2 separate regions of the Homo sapiens genome follow, and region 2 is linked to region 1. The links are contacts of gene promoters, found by promoter capture Hi-C in blood cells and fetal thymus (Javierre and others, 2016). All regions are on one chromosome and are shown on one strand. Each heading gives the region's core, a stretch centred on a gene start or on the middle of the fragment in contact. The rest is flanking DNA. Distances are from core to core; before and after follow the strand shown. Region 1 holds the start of CARTPT (CART prepropeptide). Region 2 overlaps LINC02198 (long intergenic non-protein coding RNA 2198).

Evidence for each region. Contacts are between HindIII fragments. The CHiCAGO score rates a contact against its expected background, and 5 or more counts as called.
Region 2: a fragment that was not itself captured here is called in contact with the fragment with the promoter of CARTPT in region 1 in 1 of 17 cell types (non-activated CD4 T cells); the score reaches 5.6 in non-activated CD4 T cells.

The regions. Positions count from the first base shown.
Region 1 is chr5:71,717,615-71,724,307 of GRCh38, forward strand. CARTPT (CART prepropeptide) reads left to right here and starts at 1,661. Exons shown (of 3, transcript NM_004291.4): 1 at 1,661-1,838; 2 at 2,266-2,349; 3 at 2,894-3,431. The coding sequence starts at 1,680. The coding sequence ends at 3,001. RefSeq lists an enhancer at 1,799-2,685. The HindIII fragment of the contact is 2,457 bases long and covers 814-3,270 here.
Region 2 is chr5:69,019,453-69,025,539 of GRCh38, forward strand. All of the region lies in intron 1 of LINC02198 (long intergenic non-protein coding RNA 2198), which reads right to left. Among named protein-coding and RNA genes, the nearest start is that of LINC02198, 7.4 kb to the right of the region's middle. The HindIII fragment of the contact is 9,394 bases long and covers 1-6,087 here.

The sequences.
Region 1 (6,693 bases), core at 411-2,910:
GTATTGATAGATGGTTTGGATTGAGTAGTCATAGATATTTACACTGAGATTTAAATAACAGAAGTAGTGAGCCTTTTGGAAATACAGGAAGACCTTTCAAGGAGGGGTAAGTGCAAAGACATCAAAGTATGAATGAGATTGGCCTGCTAGAGGACCAGAAAGAAGGCCATGTGAGGTTGGAGTGGAGGAGTCTGGGGCAGAGTGGTAGAACATGAGGTGGAGAGGGGTGAAGATCATATAATGCTTTGCAAGTCAGGATGAGGAATCTAGATTCAGTGCTTAGTAAGATTAGGAGTCATTAGTGTATTTTAAGGGGAAAAATACTCTGGTTGGTGGTGAACTATGGAGTAGAGGAAGGCAAGAGAAGATAGGGTGGGGATTAAGTGGTAGACATTAAGTTGACTGGGGCAGCTGTCTAGGACTGGGTTGTAGTAATGGGGATGGAGAAGAGTGGATGAATTTAGGAACAGTTGAGGGAAAGATGGTGTGGTGAAGGAAGCCAGGTGAGCAAGCAGGTCTAAGCGGGAAAGCATTGCTTTTCCTACAGGAATTTTCCTGTGCATTCAGGCTGTAAGGATCTCAACTTTTAAAAAAGCCACATTGTTCTCCCAAGTTGTTGGGGAGCTGGTTCACCATTGACTTCTGATCTCTGGAGATATTTTCATAATCATGGAGCTGTCTTTCTTTTCACTCTTTTACTCTCTTTCTAGACAGGCTTCTTGGATACCAAGGGTTGGTGGTGGGTGGGGGGAGGTTCTGGGGATGGTTAAATTTGCCTGGGCAGCCTCAAAGTTCAAAAAGGAGGGACAGGGAAGCTTAGCTAAGAACCAGGAGTTTGACATACTTAATCTCTCATTTCATCCTACTGATGACTTTGTGAGGTATATCTTTTTAATCCTAGATCTACAAAAGAGAAAGCTGAGGCTTGGAGAGGTTCTTCATTTTGTTCAAAGTCATACAACTTTTACGTGGTGTAGCCAGGATGGGAACCAGAGCCTGGCTCTCTGCACTTCCAACACCACTGCTGAATCCGGGTTTGTCTGTTTTCCCTCTCTTCTTTTAACTATTGTCACACAGATTCCATCATAGAACCCATCACGTGGAGGGCCACTATTTCTCTTTCTTTTGTATAGTATGTTTGCTTCCCCTACCCCACAGAGTAAGGTGCTCAGCAAATGTGGCTGTCTGGAGGCAACACCCCCTTCTCACCGCCACACTTGGGGTTGGGGTGCGAGGCAAGGCAGGGCTGGCGAGGTGGATGTTGCAGCTGTCACCACTGCTAGGTGTTGGGAAACGACTCTCCTGCCTGTGCATTGACCCGAAGGCATTTTCCATTTCCTAGGCCCCTCCCGCTTCCCGTCCCTCACCTCTAGCCCCTCGGCTTCAGCTCAGGCCCCTCGGGGAGCATCCCTTGCCGTGAGACTGACAGCCTTTGGGGGCGCAGGGTCCTGTTCTCTGCGCTCTAGCCCATCTGTGCGCAGAGCCTCGTTCCCAGGCGCCTGGAACCCGGCGGGCATTGACGTCAAGCGCCGGCGGAGCGCTGCCTACAGACGGTTGACCCGGGCCCTCCTCCACACCCCCTTCCTTCTTCGCCTCCTCCCTCTTTCCTGCACGGGGGCTCGGGCTCACTATAAAAGGTGGGAGCGCGTGGTGCCCCAGCAACGACGAGTTTCAGAACGATGGAGAGCTCCCGCGTGAGGCTGCTGCCCCTCCTGGGCGCCGCCCTGCTGCTGATGCTACCTCTGTTGGGTACCCGTGCCCAGGAGGACGCCGAGCTCCAGCCCCGAGCCCTGGACATCTACTCTGCCGTGGATGATGCCTCCCACGAGAAGGAGCTGGTCGGTATTCCCCTCGCTCTCGACCCCCTTGAGCTGTCGCCTTGTCTCTTCTCTTGCACGCCTCCCTCCTCCCCCCACCCCCACTCCTATTCCCAGAGTCAGGGCGCGGGGAGCTGAGCGCAACGCCCAGGCACCCACTGCCATCCGAAGAGCGTCTCGAGCTCACGGGCTCCTGGCAGTCTGTTGAGCGAATCCCTCATCCCGGCCCCTCTGAGCAACAGGGACCCCAGCGGCTCAGAGACCCGCGGTCAGTACCTGGGACAGCGTCCGCTAAGTTTCCACCCCTCGACCATTCCCTGTGTCCGCGGAGTCCCACCGCAGAGTGCGTGTGGGTCCGGGGCTCCTTATAACTAGGGCTGGAAGTGCGCACCTGGGCTGGGCTCGCAGCCAAGGCGGCAACTTCAGGCTCCGAAGCGGTGTGTTGCAGATCGAAGCGCTGCAAGAAGTCTTGAAGAAGCTCAAGAGTAAACGTGTTCCCATCTATGAGAAGAAGTATGGCCAAGTCCCCATGGTAAGGTTTGTGGTCACTCCCTTCCCGTGTTTTTCCAAGAGAAAGTACACCGCCTTGAATCGTACACACAGTCTTCTCCGTAGGATGTGGCTAAATAACTTAGGTAATGGGCTTGCAGGATTCTGTGGGCTCCTTCTTCCTTCCCGGGTGAGGAAATGGGAAAGCAGGAACAGGGGTTGTAAGAAAGTGTAAGTCTATTGTTTGTTGCTCAGGAAAAAGGTCTGATTTTTTTCCCCTCTGAGAGGGCAAGAAAAGGAGCCAGGAAATGTGATGCTCCCCTTCCCACGCCCCCCAACCCTCGCCACTTAAAGGTGGAAGAAACTAGGATAAAACTAATAATGTAAGTTTCTTTAAAAAATGTACTCTCACTGAGGTTATAAGCACAAGGCTCCCTGTTTCAGATCTGACTGTACGTAGACCTCTTGTGATGGTGATGGGGTCCAATTGCCCCTTTCAAGAGACAGAAATTGCGTTGACTGTGAGACTTGCCTGTTGGGAACCTGGGTTTGTTCATACTCGATGACCACACATTTTGTTGTTTCAGTGTGACGCCGGTGAGCAGTGTGCAGTGAGGAAAGGGGCAAGGATCGGGAAGCTGTGTGACTGTCCCCGAGGAACCTCCTGCAATTCCTTCCTCCTGAAGTGCTTATGAAGGGGCGTCCATTCTCCTCCATACATCCCCATCCCTCTACTTTCCCCAGAGGACCACACCTTCCTCCCTGGAGTTTGGCTTAAGCAACAGATAAAGTTTTTATTTTCCTCTGAAGGGAAAGGGCTCTTTTCCTGCTGTTTCAAAAATAAAAGAACACATTAGATGTTACTGTGTGAAGAATAATGCCTTGTATGGTGTTGATACGTGTGTGAAGTATTCTTATTTTATTTGTCTGACAAACTCTTGTGTACCTTTGTGTAAAGAAGGGAAGCTTTGTTTGAAAATTGTATTTTTGTATGTGGCATGGCAGAATGAAAATTAGATCTAGCTAATCTCGGTAGATGTCATTACAACCTGGAAAATAAATCACCCTAAGTGACACAAATTGAAGCATGTACAAATTATACATAATAAAGTGTTTTTAATAATTGCCCATAGTGCACTGCTGTTTTCATATAAGTAATTTAAGTGGAAATGGTGAGATTAATCATGCTGTTGTTTTCAAAGAAAAATATTTTAAAAATAGCAGCCTATTGGGAAAATGGCACCTTAGCTCCAAGGAGTTTTGATCGTTAATTAGAAGTTTGCCAAGCCAGTTTTAGTATACTCTATTTTTCTTTGATTGCAGCGATGTGGTGTGTGTATGTGTGTGTGTATGTGTGTGTGTGTGTGTGTGTGAGAGAGAGAGAGAGAAAGAGAGAGATGAATGAGATGGAGATGGTTGGAGTTGAGGTTATATAATTTTGTTTATTAAAACCTTTAGCCAGACCCTTTACTTTAAACAGTGAGACCAATAAACTATAAACAGTTTCATGTTTTAGTCACATTAAAAGCAATTTGAAAAATTAGAAATTTTGTTTTGACAACTCCCTTATTAGAAAATATACATTGATTTAAAGATATGGGCTGTTTAGGGTTGTTATTTGTCTAAAGACTCCAAGGTTATAAGACCCATTCATTCCCACAAGTAAATTCACACTCTTGGAAAAAATTCTCTATTCCAGGAGAAAGAGTCATTTCAGAAAATAGTTTTGAGGGGAACAAATAAAAATTGGAGGAGGTGAGAATTCAACTCAAGAAATTAAAACATATTAAATGTAAAGTTAAGTAGCTTTTAAATATTTCTGAGTGCTTATTTGAGGTCACATTTCCAAGGGTTTAAACCAGACTAAGTAACATCTAAGTAGCAGCATCATGAGAGAAATAAATGTTAACAGCTTCCTAATCCAAACTCAAGAGGCACTTGCATAATAGCAGAATTGAAAAATAAAGCCCCTCCACGGATTCATAGGGAGTTTTCTGATAGAAAATATTCTTATACACAGTTACCATTTTCAGTGTGATTATTATTATTAGCATGCCTAATCTTGCAAGATAGATATTATTACTATTTTTCAGAGTAGAAAACAGAGGGCAAGAGAATTATGGAATTTGCTTACACCATATAATCCTAAATAATAATTTTAGCTGTAATCCCTTTGACTCCAAAGATTTGTCCTTTTTCTCCATGTCACTTAGGCAATCAACAGACTGGGCTTTGAATTCCCCAGAAAGCACATCTTTCCTTAATAAAAATTGCTCACTGGGGGCCAAGGTGTATTTTTTGGGGCTGTGTTTCCGTTTGAATTCCCCTACACAAGCCTATATGTGATTAGAATGTGGTATTTTTGTTTGTTTCTTTTCTTTTCTTTTCTTTTTTTTTTTTTTTTTGAGACAGGGTCTCACTCTGTCACCCAGGCTGAAGTGCAGTGGCACAATTACGGCTCACTGCAGCTTCGATCTCCCAGGCTCAAGTGATCCTCCCACCTCAGGCTTCTAAGTAGCTTGGACCACAAGCATGCACCACCATGCCTGGCTAACTTTTGTATTTTTAGTAGAGACGGAGCTTCGCCATGTTGTCCAGGCTGATCTCAAACTCCTGGGCTTAAGCGATCTGCCCACCTTGGCCTCCCAAAGTGCTGGGATTACAGGCGCGACACACGTCGCCCAGGCAGAATGGGATATGTTTTAATTTTTAATAAGTGCAAGTAGTTATTTAATAGTTTCACAGTCTGCTACTTTTCCAGAAATCATTTCAGTTAGAATATTCTTGAGCCCCTTAACTATTCCTATCTATCACTCCTAAATAAGTCAGATCAGGAAATTGCTTTAGTGAACAGGCAGTACCGTCAGGGCTAACACACAGAACTGCTTTCTCTCCTTATTATTTTTTTTAGAGACAAGGTCTCACTCTGTTGCCTAGGCTGGAGTGCAGTGGTGCCATCCTGGCTCACTGCAGACTCAAATTCCTGGGCTTAAGGAAACCTCCCACCTCAGCCTCCCAAGTAGCTAGGACTATAGATGCACACAACCACACCTGGCTGATTTTTTAAAATTAATTTTTGGAGAGATGGGGTCTTGCTTTATTGCCCAGGCTAGGTCTTGACCTCCTGGGCTCAGGCAATCCTGCCTCTGCCTTCCAAAGCACTGAAATTACAGGTATGAGCCATCACACCTGGCCAGAACTGCTTTCCCTTTTAGCCTGGTGTGTTTCCCCAAAAGCAAGAGATGCTGGAGGAATCTGGAGTTCAAAGAAAAGAATATAAACTTGACTCTAAACCTTTTTAGCTTGTTCCCCTCACCCCTGCCTTTACTCTGTCATCCCTCCTTTCTTGTTTGATGAGACTAAGGGATATGGACAAGTGGCTATAGGAAATTGGTAATGGGGAATCTGTGGGCTCTGTATGAAGAGGCTTTTTTTTTTTTCCAAAAATTTTGTCTGGGGGCCCAGATTTTCAGTTAATGGTGTTAATATGTTCTGCACTAATGATAGCAGCACTTAATTTTTGATGGCTTGTTAAAAGTAACTTTGCCTTCCCATTTTATCAATACTGGAGTGATCAATCTTGGTGAGTATTGGGGTAGAAGATCAGAGCTGGAGTCCAAGTTTCTGCCCTGTCATACAGTCATAGCTGCTGATCCCATGGGGTGAGTGGCTCATACATCCCATAACCCAAGGGCCAGGTTCCTTTCTCAGAGGTTAACATCTAATCCTATATCCTGGACATTGCTCAGCATGCAAGAGGCAGTGGAAAGTCACAAACCTGCTCTTGCTCTTGTCCCCATCATGAGTCCCCCGGCCCCCTTAAATGATGTTGTAGACAGGCTATATGTGCTGTCTGGTCATTCACCTTGTCTGCTTGATAGTGGTACATTTTACTGATAGATTTTATAATGACGTTTTTCCTTGCATGGGATAAACTCCGCTTAGTTATGACAAATTTTATAACACATTATTGGCTTCTATTTGTTGGTATACATACTAGAACTTTTAAATCTATGCTTCTAAGAAAAATTGATTTGTAATTTTCTTTTCTTATACTGTCATTGCTTAGTTTCAGTGTTAGACTGTAATAGCTTCAAAAAATGAATTAGGAAGTTTGTTTTCCCCTTCCCTTTCCTTGTCTTTTGAAACAGTTTGTAAAGAGAGATTATCTGCGACTGTTTGGTTAAATTCTTTTGTGGGCGGAAGACTTTGATTACTGAGTCAATTTCTTCAATGATTTTTTAAATGACCTTGGAACTATGACTGGGGATAGATGAGACATGAGAGATTTGCACACTTCATTTGGACTTAATTTAAATCTAGTTAGGAAGGGTGTTAAAAAAGATCTAAGAATAGAATAAGGAAGAGCTAAGATTTTGAATTTATA
Region 2 (6,087 bases), core at 2,357-4,856, 2.7 Mb before region 1:
TCAAGGTTAACAGGGTTGGTAACTTCTGAAGGCTGTGAGGAAGAATCTGTTTCCTGCCTTCTCTTCTTCTAGTGATTTGTGACCATTTTTGGCATTCTTTGGCTAGTAGACACATCACTCTGATCTCTGCCTTAATGTTTACCTGATGTCCTCCCTGTGTGCCTATCTATGTACAAATTTCCCTTGATTATAAGGACACCAGTCATATTGGATTAGGGCCCACTTTAATGACCTCGTTTTAACTTGATTGGCTCTGTAAAGATCCTGTCTCCAAATAAGGTCATATTCTGAGGTACTGGGAGTTAGGACTTCAGTATATGAATCTGGGAGGGACACAGCTGAACCCATAACACCAAGGAAGACATGAGGATCTAAAATGGGTAGCGAGGTCATTTAGGGAGAGCAGGACACAAATCCAGCAGACGATGACAACTTGCTTGATGTGTAGAGAGAAATGTGTGAAACACGTGTTCTGAAATCCCAGACTAAGCAACTCTGGCTGGATCACTTTACGAACCTCAAATTCAGCCCAGATTCATAAATCCTTGAAGAAAATTCAAGCCAATTTTGGAGTTTCTGACAAGCTCCAGAGGCTGAATGGATCAGGCACAATTTCACTTGGTATTTAGGATTATTGAGTCTAACCTGAAACCTAATGCAAATTCATGGAACACAAACTCCTTACAAATTGAATAGATGCAAATACAAAGGGCTTCTGAGCCATCTGGACTGCACATGCTGAATGTTGGAAGTTTTTCCATCTCAATAACATGGGGGAGGCAGGGAGAACTAGGCTGGCAAGTTCTCCCCATCACCGACTCTGCAATGTAGTACATTTGCCACTCCTGTGAATTTGCATTATTTCAAATAGTGCAATACACAAAGTAATAATAATAAAGTTTCACTTTGTGACCAAAATTTAAAACATATGAATCTCCTTAAATGTGGAAATTTGTCAAAATTTGCAAAATTTCAAGGGGGCAGGCTGAGAAGTTTGTAAGCTGTGTTTTTGTTACTGCATTGGAAAGTGTCACTTTAACGGGTTACAGAAATACCTGCCATCGTTAATCAACAAGCACTGTTGTGCAGGCACAACCACACTTCGGCCAATGGTCTTAGTGGCCATCAGGGTCTTATTTTAAATTTCACAGTAGTTAAGAATTAAAGTCTTTTGAATAGTCTATAACAGTGTCATCCAACAGCTCATGTAAGTGATGGCCCTACTGCTGAAAAACGTGCTGGAAAATCAATAGCTGTGGACTGGAAGTTAGATGTGATAAAAAGTTATGAGGAAGGCCAGATATCAACCTTGATATGCTCTGTTGTTAAATTAAGAGGGAGCACTGTGTAAATGATGTAAGGCTGAGAAAACAAAGGCAAAAATAGACCACAATAGGTGTGGGGCTTTGCACTTTGAAGACACATCCCTTCTACTTTACTTCTATTTCTATGGGAAAATTAACTTGAAATTGTGCAAGGTTTGAATTAGGCAAGATCTTTAGGAGCATGTCTTTTGAATTAAAAGCCACCATCCCGTATTTTCTTAATAACTTTACTGAAATAGATACGTCATAAATATATATTTTTATGCCATAAAAATAAATGTATGCCATAAGATTCACTCCTTCTACATGTATAATTCAATGATTTTTTAATAAATTTACTCACTTGTGTAACCATCCACATCGTCTAGTTATATTTTTTATTTTTTCCAGTTTTTATTTTTATTACGCTAGTAAGATCTCTCAATGCCCATTTACAATTAATCCTCATTCCTTCCTCCAACCCCAAGCAACTACTAATCAACTTTTTCTCTTTTAGATTTGCTTTTTTGGACTTTTCACACAAATGGAATCCTACAATATGTGGGTTTTCTGTCTGGCTTCTCTCACTTAGCATGATGTTTTTGAGGTTGAGCATCCATGTTATCACATGTATCAGTATTTTGCTCCTTTTTGTTACTGAATAGCATTCCGTTACATGGATCCTGTAGCAGTTTTTTTGTTTGTTTGTTTGTTTGTTTTGGTTTGGTTTTTGGCTTAAATTTAGATGGCCCAAAAGTATAGCCACTTCTTACTGTGTGTCAGATGTGGCTATGAAAATGTGTGGTAGATACTAATCAAATATGGCCTCCAACAATTCTTCCCCTCTCTGTATACAGATTGAGAGGTGGAGTCTATTTCTCCTCCCCTAGAATCTGGGCTGGCCCTATCACTTGTCTTGTCCAAAAGGATGTAGCACCAGCTGGTGGGGCATGGTGGCTCATATCTGTAATCCCAGTACTTTGGGAGGCTGAGGCAGGCAGATAGCTTGAGCTCAGAAGTTTGAGACCAGCCTGGGCAACATGACAAAACCTCGTCTCCACAAAAAAATTTAAAGAAATTAGCCGGGTGTGGTGGCATATGCCTGTGGTCCCAGTTCCTTGGGAGGCTGAGGTGGGAGGATGGCTTGAGCCCAGGAGGCGGAGGTTGCAGTGAGCCAAGATTGCACCACTGCACTCCAGCCTGGGCAACAGAGCCAGACCCTGTCAAGGGAAGCGAAGGGGAGGGGAGGGGAGGGGAGGGGAGGGGAGGGGAGGGGAGGGAAAGGAATGGAATTCTGAGACTTCTAAACCCAGACCTTAAGAGAATTGCAAATTCTGCTTCCTCTTCTTAGAAGCCAGCTGTCATGCTGTAATGAAGCTGGCGCTACCCAAAAAGATATGTTGAAGTCCTAACCTCTGGTACCTATAACTGTGAGCTTATTTGGAAATAGGCTCTTTGCAGATGGAATCAAGTTAAGATGAGGTCACTAGGGTGGGACCTAATCCAGTTTGACTGGCATCCTTATGAGAAAAGGAAAGTCATGTGAAAACAGAGATGCACAGCAAAAATGTCACATAGTGACAGAGGCAGAGATGAGAGTGACACAGCTGCAAACCAAGGAATGCCAAGGACTGCTGGCCACCACCAAAAGCTGGGAGACAGGCATGAACCAATTCTCCTCCAGAGCCTTTGGAGGGAGCACAGCTCTGTTGACTCCTTGATTTCAGACTTCTGGCCACCATAACTGTGAAAGAATCAATGTCTGTCATTTTAAGCCATCCAGTTTGTGGTGTTTTGTTTGTTAAGGCAGCCCTAGAAATTAATACCCCTGTTCAGGAGCTGGGATTTTACTCTGGGTGCAAGAGAAATTCCTGGAGCTCCAAGCAGGGGTGTGGCATCATTTGATTTGCACATGGAAAATGCATGTGTGTGGTCTCAAGAAGAGCTGATCAAATAAAACAGGGAAGCCAACTGGAGGTATACAATGTTGGTGACCATAACCAGGGTGGTGACAGTGGCCTTGGTAAAAATGCACAGATTTGGAAGATATTTTGGAGACAGATCAGCATGACTTGATGGTGGATCAGAAGTGAAGAATGAAGGAAAGAGGTCTCAAGGACACATATAGATTTTTGGATGACATCTAAGGTTTTTGCCAATTCTCAGAGCTTATGGCATCCATGAGAAGAGTGTTTCTGTGTCTGGAGATGCCATAGGTGAATTCCTGGATGATTCCAGGAGTGAATGTGGGTGCATCAGAAAATTTCACCCATCTTGGCCCCACTATTTGGTTCCCACTGTGAGCCAGTGCTGGCTGGTCTCCCTCAGTCCAGCTGCCCAAAAGTAATAAATAATCCCTTCATGTTTGTCTCATCAATAAATATATTCTTTTTTTTTTCCAGAAAAAAGAGAAGAAGAAGTTGAGGCTAGACTACTGGATAAGATATCACAGGCAGAAAGCTCTGCACAATATGAGGCCATCTTGGATGTTCCAGCTCCAGCCAAGCTCCCAGCTGAATACAGCTGCATGAATGACCACAGCTCCACCACATGGAGCAGAGAAACCACCGAGCTTAGCCCAGTCAACTCACATAATCATGAGAAATAATGCATGATAGTTGCTTTGAGCCACTCCATTTTGGTTGTGTTTGTTTGTTTGTTTGAGATGGAGTTTTGCTCTTGTTGCCCAGGCTGGAGTGCAATGGTGTGATCTCGGCTCACTGCAACCTCTGCCTCCTGGGTTCAAGCGATTCTCCTGCCTCAGCCTCCCGAGTAGCTGGGATTACAGGCATGTGCCACCACACCTGGCTAATTTTGTATTTTTAGTAGAGATGAGGTTTCTCCATGTTGATCAGGCTGGTCTCAAACTCCCAACCTCAGGTAATCCGCCCACATCGGCCTCCCAAAGTGCTGGGATTACAGGTGTGAGCCACTGCATCTGGCCAGCTTTGGTTTTTTATGGTGTGTTATGCAGCATTGGTAACTGAAACATCATGATTTCACCAGTCTTTCTCCTTCCCTTAATTCTTGTTAATTATGTTCTCTTTTAATTTTTATAGTTTTATTCCATTCTATGGAGATTTCTAGTGGACCCTAAATTTAACATCACTTTCTTGGCTGTTTGTGGCACATTGAAGAGTTTTATGTCAATCTGCTTCCTGATATTCATATGCTGAAATCTTGGGACAACATTTTCTAAATGGTCTGAAGAGAATCGCCTGGAGAGCTTTATAAAAATTGATTCTCCATTCTCCCCTCCACGCCCTCACAGTGATGGATAAGAAACTGGTATCCAGCTGCTCCCGAAACAGTGTACAAGTTAATTTGATAATCTCACCAAGAAAGCTATTTCAATAACTCAATTAAGTATTTCCTGAATTTTGATTAAAGGAAAAAACAGCATGCTAAACCCTATGCATAAAGATACAAAAACTATCAAAATATAACCCTTACCCTCAAAAAGTTTATAATTAGATTGCAAAAAAAAATGCATGGCAATATGTGATTAACATTCAATCAACCCTTGAAGTTGACTAACAAATCGCCCTTCAAGTTTCACCCTCAGCATGCCCTTTGAGTTGTCCAACTCTAGGGGGCACCATTCACAAAGAAAACCACATGAACGGTGCCTCCCTAGAGCTGTTTAACAGACTGCATTCAATTGCAAAGATAAAAAGGGCTATGACTATTCCTGCATATAGTTCAAGAGTTGGAACTTGTTGCTCATCTTTGTCGATTCACATTCTCCGCCCAGCACCTGGCACAACACGGGTGCTCAATAAAGCTAAGTCAGTGAACATCACTGAGATGACAAAATTTCAATGGGCTTTGGTGGTCAAGGAAGCCTTCATGAAGGAGAGGAGAGGAGACTGAAGGAGGAGAGGAAACTGAAGTTGGACACTGGAGAAAGGGATGAAGTGAAAGAGGCATCATAGGAGCTAAATAGGCCTAATGAAGCGTTGCTTCCTTCAATGGAGAAGAAATCCTCAATGTGGAACTAGATGAATACACTGATCAGCAAATACCACTGGATTCATGCTTACCCAGGAGCCTTAAAAACTGCCTTCCTCAATTCCAGTCATCTGCATGCACCTCAGATAAGATAAAGATACAAAGAGGAAGAAAGTAAGTGCCACCATAACAACACCCCACATGGAAGGGTCTATCTCCTGCTTTGAGCAACACAGTTCTCTAGAATCACAGATCAGGGGAGTCCAAGGACTCTCTTTACAGTTTTTTTTGTTTTTGGGGGGGTTTTTTTGGTTTTTTTTGAGACGGATTCTCGCTCTGTCGCCCAGGCTGGAGTGCAGTGGCGCGATCTCGGCTCACTGCAAGCTCCGCCTCCCAGGTTCACACCATTCTCCTGCCTCAGCCTCCCGAGTAGCTGGGACTACAGGCACCCGCCACCACGCCCAGCTAATTTTTTGTATTTTTAGTAGAGACGGGGTTTCACCGTGTTAGCCAGGATGGTTGATCTCCTGACCTTGTAATCTGCCCGCCTTGGCCTCCCAAAGTGCTGGGATTACAGGTGTGAGCTACCGCGCCCAGCCTACAGCTTTTTAAATTGGAGTGGCAAGAACTACAGAGCTGCAATATTGAGCTATGTCTCCATCTCATTGTACCTCTGCTGTATTTGAATGGGAGCTCCCAAAAAATGAGACTAATCCTAATTTCTCATCTTCTGATATCATCAGAGTCTGTAGAGGACTTCAGATGGCTGAGAAGCCAAGCGAAGTCTGAAGAAGACATGTGTTTGAAGCAGGAGGCACCCAAAGATGGTCAC